2 separate regions of the Homo sapiens genome follow, and region 2 is linked to region 1. The links are contacts of gene promoters, found by promoter capture Hi-C in blood cells and fetal thymus (Javierre and others, 2016). All regions are on one chromosome and are shown on one strand. Each heading gives the region's core, a stretch centred on a gene start or on the middle of the fragment in contact. The rest is flanking DNA. Distances are from core to core; before and after follow the strand shown. Region 1 holds the start of CDKL2 (cyclin dependent kinase like 2). Region 2 overlaps CCNI (cyclin I).

The links. The method cuts DNA at HindIII sites, captures the fragments that hold promoters and counts their contacts. A CHiCAGO score of 5 or more calls a contact.
Region 2: a fragment that was not itself captured here is called in contact with the fragment with the promoter of CDKL2 in region 1 in 1 of 17 cell types (total CD8 T cells); the score reaches 5.7 in total CD8 T cells.

Annotation. Positions count from the first base shown.
Region 1 is chr4:75,629,220-75,632,179 of GRCh38, reverse strand. It overlaps CDKL2 (cyclin dependent kinase like 2), which reads left to right and starts at 1,652. Exons shown (of 14, transcript NM_001330724.2): 1 at 1,652-2,138. The HindIII fragment of the contact is 1,829 bases long and covers 334-2,162 here.
Region 2 is chr4:77,056,891-77,059,770 of GRCh38, reverse strand. It overlaps CCNI (cyclin I), which reads left to right. Exons shown (of 7, transcript NM_006835.3): 3 at 1,136-1,264. Among named protein-coding and RNA genes, the nearest start is that of CCNI, 18 kb to the left of the region's middle. The HindIII fragment of the contact is 2,250 bases long and covers 506-2,755 here.

The DNA.
Region 1 (2,960 bases), core at 403-2,902:
GCTAATTTTTGTATTGTTAGTAGAGACAGGGTTTCACCATGTTGGCCTGGCTGGTATCAAACTCCTGACCTCAGGTGATCTGCCCGCCTTGGCCTCCCAAAGTGCTAGGATTACAGGCATGAGCCACCGCATCTGGCTGAAATTGTTTCCTAAAGCATCACTTGTTCGCCAAATCCAGTATTTTCAGTCTTTATCCTTTGGTTCCCTGTGAGATATAAATAGATTATTGAAGCTTCTAGGCCTCTTGCATGAAGGGGCCTTAAAATGTTATACGGTTGAATATGATTATAAAGTTGCAAAAGTAAAATAGTTTTGCGCTCTTGTTCTTAAGCTTCAGGCCCAACAAAACTGAATCTACCCCCATATAAAAGAAGTTCATCAGATTCTCTTATAGCCTATAGAGGTACCAAATGGGACAGGGCTTCTCGCAACTTGGACACAGCTAAGGACAGAGCTAATTGCTACACTAAGAGTCACATCTTGAATTGACCAAATAATTCTATTCTTTCCATAACTAGGCCTCAGGTCTGGTTCTCAATATTACAGGTTCAGGAACTAGATTTTAAGCAGTCTGACCAAGGTAATTAACCACTGGGAGATTAATGCAAACTAACCAAACTCACAAAAGACTATAAAAAGAATGTCTATTTCTTAATGTACAAGAAGGAATCAATACCTTAACATTAATGATTAATACCTTAATATTGACTAGGGTATATGGTAGACATTTGTCTATCCAGGACACTCTATTCCCTAAATCAAAGTAGTTTCGAGACCAAAATGATCATGAACATTTAGTTATCATGATTGAAAGTGTTATTTTACTGGCCTTATGGCCTCCTCGCTGCCTCAGATTCTTTGAAAATGGGGTAAGCTCTGTTCCTGTGTGATTTAAGCCTGTGCATGATTCTGACCTACCAGTCTTGCTCAGTCGTGGATTGAGCTGCATTTTTGCATTTAAGGCAAGTTTTATCGCAAGCCCTAACTCCACCCCATTTGGCTGCCATACGCGGGTGTTGTGCGTGTCCTCCAGATCCCCAGCCATCCCAGCGCTTTCCCATTCCACTCATGCCCTCTCTTCCCCTTCCTCCATCTCAGTGTTTTCCCTCACTTTCAATGGCCAGACTGGCCTTCCCAAGGTCCCTCCTAACGTCAGGTCTGTCATCACCTACCTTCTTCCACCTTGCCTCGCCTACTAATCATCACCTCCTAAACTGTCACCGTTATCTCCTACCTGGCTCACACTGGCCCCACCGCCCAGAACAGAAAGGAAGCATGGAATCCCGGTCAGGCCGCGCCTACGCGACTCAGGGCGCCCGGCGCCCGCCCCTGCCCCAGCGGCGATGCTATGAGGGAAACCGTATCGCATTTTGCATAGTCTTCGCAGTCCTACATAACCGCCACCTTTACCCTTCGCGTGGGCATCACAATCGCCTCCTCCCGCTGGGGAAGGCAGAAAGGCGCCTCCTGACGAGAACCAAGGCGTGTGGGGACGCAGGGCCTCTGCGTGTCAGGGAGCAGAACCTGGGCCGAGCCCTAGGTGAAGGGGCGGGGTGGTTGGCCCTGAGCCAATCATGGCTCGTGACGACTCGGCTCGGCCAATCAGAAGAAGGGAGGCCTGGCGCTCTCGGGGCGGGTGAGAAACCGCCCCCCCTTGCAGCTCCGCGGCCAACGCCTTCGCCCAGGGGTAGTTGGAGCGGTGCAGGTTCCCAGGCTCCAGGTACTGGGCGCCTTACGAGCTGGGAGGTGGTGCCTCTCACCCAGCTAATTGCTCTCTAGCCCTTGGCCTTCACAGGTGTTGGTGCCTGCCGTGAACGCATTCTGACCTGGGCCGTATCTGTCTCCCAAGACTTTGTGCCTATGGTTGGGGACAGAGTGAGGTCGTTGCCTTGACGACGACAGCATGCGGCCCGTGGTCCTCCTAAGTGTGAGCTTGCGGCGGACCGAGGCCCACCTGCCTCCCTGCCTGCTTCGCCCTGGACTCGTGACTGCGTCCGCAGAAGAAATCACAACAGCGCTGGAATTGCTAGTTTGCTAGGCAGCATCTTTTGGACCTGCGAACCATATGCATTTCACCTCAAATTTGTTTCCAAGTTGAAAACCTTTGGGTCTTTCTATGCGAACGGATTGAAGAAACGGTAAGTATAGTACGTTTTAAAGCTTCTATTATCTCGTTCTTTGATCTATAAAAGATTTCAATCTTTTTTTTTTTTTTTTTTTTTTTTTTTTTTTTTTTTTTTTGAGACGGAGTTTCACTCTTGTTGCCCAGGCTGGAGTGCAATGGCATGGTCTCGGCTCACCGCAACCTCTGCCTCCTGGGTTCAAGCGATTATCCTGCCTCAGCCTCCCAAGTAGCTGGGATTACAGGCATCACCACCACGCCCGGCTAAGTTTGTATTTTTAGTAGAGACAGGGTTTCTCCATGTTGGTTAGGCTGGTCTCGAACTCGCAACCTCAGGTGATCCGCCCGCCTCGGCCTCCCAAAGTGTTGGGATTACAGGCGTGAGCCACCGCTCCCGGCCCTTTAATCTGTCTTAAACAAAATAAAAAATTAGCATTCTCCAAATATTTTTATCAAAATTGTTGCTTTTAGAACCATCCAGAAATAACACCTTGCCCATTGGCCAGGTTTCTTTTTCGTTTGTATTACCTTTCCGTTCAAGAGTAGAAGGCATGAGAAGTTATAGTTTATGAGTAACTGTTTCAGGAAACAGGAGGCTTTGTAGGCTGTGATACTTTTAAAGTATTTGTGGACAGTGTCACTTGAAAAAGCAGGTGTGTTCAATGTGGTGTGTCCAGATATGCAATTGGTTGGGAGAATAAACTTGAAGCAGTCAACTTGCATTAATGTTAGCTTGGGATATGCTTCAGAACACCTCAGACATGCTTAAAGTCATTTTTTTTGGTTCACTTTGTGCTTTCAAATATTGAGGACATCAATTACAAAATGTTTTAAAATA
Region 2 (2,880 bases), core at 381-2,880, 1.4 Mb before region 1:
TCCAGAACTAGATCTTAAAGTAGCCTGGATACAGAATTACAGCTAGATATGAGGAATAACTTCTAGTGTTCCATACCATTGTAGGCTTACTATGGTTAACTTAGGAAATACAAATGAACTATGATAACAGAATGATAGCCCATTTAAAAAACTGAAATCAATATTAATAAGTGAAAGTTACCAGGGGCAACAGATGAATTATACATTTAGAGATGATGAAAAAAAATATTGAACAGGAAATCAACCTGAAGTAAATGACTATTTTGAAAGCTTTCCACAAACACAAAACATTGTTGTTTTAATCTTCCTACATATTATTTGAGTATTCTCCTTACAGCTCTTTCAAACTGTTTGAAACTACAGTTTGAAAGAGCTGTAAGGAGAATACTGAATGTTCCCAAAATAAACAACCGGTTTTATTTTTTTAATGGCGACTCCAAAACTCAAGAGTAAAAGTTTTCTAATCACTATTACTTTAAAGTGTGTCCCTGCTAAAAATTAAGCTTATACTCAATAGGCTTACAACAACAATAAAACAATAATGTTTTGTGTTTGTGGAAATTTTTCAAAATAGTAATTTACTTCAGATTAATTTCCTGTTCAATATTTTTTCATCATCTCTAAGTGTATAATTCATCTGTTGTCCCTGGTATCTTTTACTTATTACTATTGATTTTAGTTTTTCAAATGGGCTATCATTTCCATTATCATAGTTCATTTATATTTCCTAAGATAAGTTAATGGCTACTTGCTGCGGGAGAAATTCACTGTATTTTCTTAATCTTAAGAGGTGGGGTAACTTAACTCCAAATTACTATCAGTTGATAATAGTGTTACTTAAACTTTAAAATGTTATATTCTCTGAGCACCTAAATTTAATTCAACTATGGATATTTGGTGAGATGACATAGTGAAAATTTTAATAAAGAGTAGGAGAATATTGGATATTGATATTAAATGTGATAATACATAAAGTTTTATTTCATGTGTCTCAAGTCTGATAGATTTTGAATAACCTTAACATTTTTAAATATATTTTGTAGTATTACCTAACCTTTTATGAGAGAGAATTCTAAACATACTCTTGATGATAGCTCAAACTTTGTCTTCTGTTTTCAAAATTGTTCCCTTATAGAATGTTTCTCCATCCCAGAGAGATGAAGTAATTCAATGGCTGGCCAAACTCAAGTACCAATTCAACCTTTACCCAGAAACATTTGCTCTGGCTAGCAGTCTTTTGGATAGGTTTTTAGCTACCGTAAAGGTAAGTGTTTTAAGATAGACTTACATATAACCTCATTTGAGTGTATGTATGCTAAACTAGAGGCTATTAGTGAACATTCTGTAAGGTAGAAAGAAGTGGAGAACTTTGCTGGAGAATGATGTATGTACCCATAAGAAGACATGGTGATGTCTTCTGCTATTGTTTATTTTATTTTTATTTTTTGATAGTTTTGCTCTGTTGCCCTGGCTGGAGTGTGTCTGCCTCCTGGGTTCAAGCAATTTTTGTGCCTCAGCCTCCCAAGTAGTTGGGACTGCAGACACGTGCCACCATGCCAGTCTAATTTTTGTATTTTTAGTAGAGACAGGGTTTTGCCGTGTTGGCCAGGCTGGTCTTGAACTCCCGACGTCAAGTCATCAGCCTGCCTTGGCCTCCCAAAGTGCTGGGATTACAGGCATGAGCCACCACTCCCGGCTTTCTACTATTGTTTAAAAAGCAGAAGTGTTTTTGGAAGTGTTTCTAATAGTATTCTGTAATTTTCTTTTTGTTACAAGTATTCATAACTTTTTAGCCTATGAAATTTTTTATCTCTTGATTTTAGCACAAACCGTATAGCATCAGCAGAATACTTAGTCATTTTCTAACATATTGGTGTACAGAGGTGGACAAGGAATCAGACTAGAATAAAGTATAAGCCTATTGCACGTTTTTCTCTGTCACTACTTATTGAATATCCATACTGTGTGGCTTTCTGAAAAACAAAGTGCTTTCTACGGGCTTACTTTGGTATATAACAAGATGTCATAAAGCAACTTTGGTATATTTTTGTTGAATGACAGCATACAAATAATTAGGTTTTATATTGTCCCCATTGCCATGTCATTGGCTGTGTCAAGTTAGTAAATAGGCCCTCAACATATTTAAAGCAGAAAATGAGCATTTATTTAATGGCAAGGCATGAAAAAGTAGCATAGTATTTAAACTTGTAGGCATTAGTATGCAAAAGAATATGTAAACTGGGGGAACTGTCAATTAAATGCTTTATTAGGTATACAGAATAGAAGCCAAATAATTACGGAGTGTAAGACTGAATAGCTGCTCAAACTTCTACTCTTAAGACACTTACTAAACATGACAGGACCCAATAAATAAGAAATATGAAAAAATGAGATATTTGGCAAAATTCTCTAATTGTTCCACAAATTTCTCCAACTTTGTTTCAAATGTTTAATAAACACAGCAAGAAACTCATGATAGAAACTACAACAATGTGTTCACTAATAATTTTTGAAAAATGTACTGTCCAAGAAAGGACACTAACTTTAAACTCATCTTTCTGTGGAATTATCTGTGAAAAGTAGGTTAGATGTAGTAGAGAGGGAGGGAGGAGTGATGTGGACTTGTTGCTGAGATAAAAGTAGGCATTTTTCAGATATCCCAGATTGCAAGCAATTAGCTTTAAAAAATGTTTACATACACAAAAAATTTTTTAATTTTGGGAATATTATTTATTAAAAACTTCTAAATCAAGCTTTTTTTCTGCTGGATAGAAATGAACTTTGGTTAATTGGCTTTGGTTGAACTTTGAGCAATGGAATTGATATTATTTTTGTAGAATATCATATGGCTAGGATTGTAATGCTAACAGTTAGCTCTCA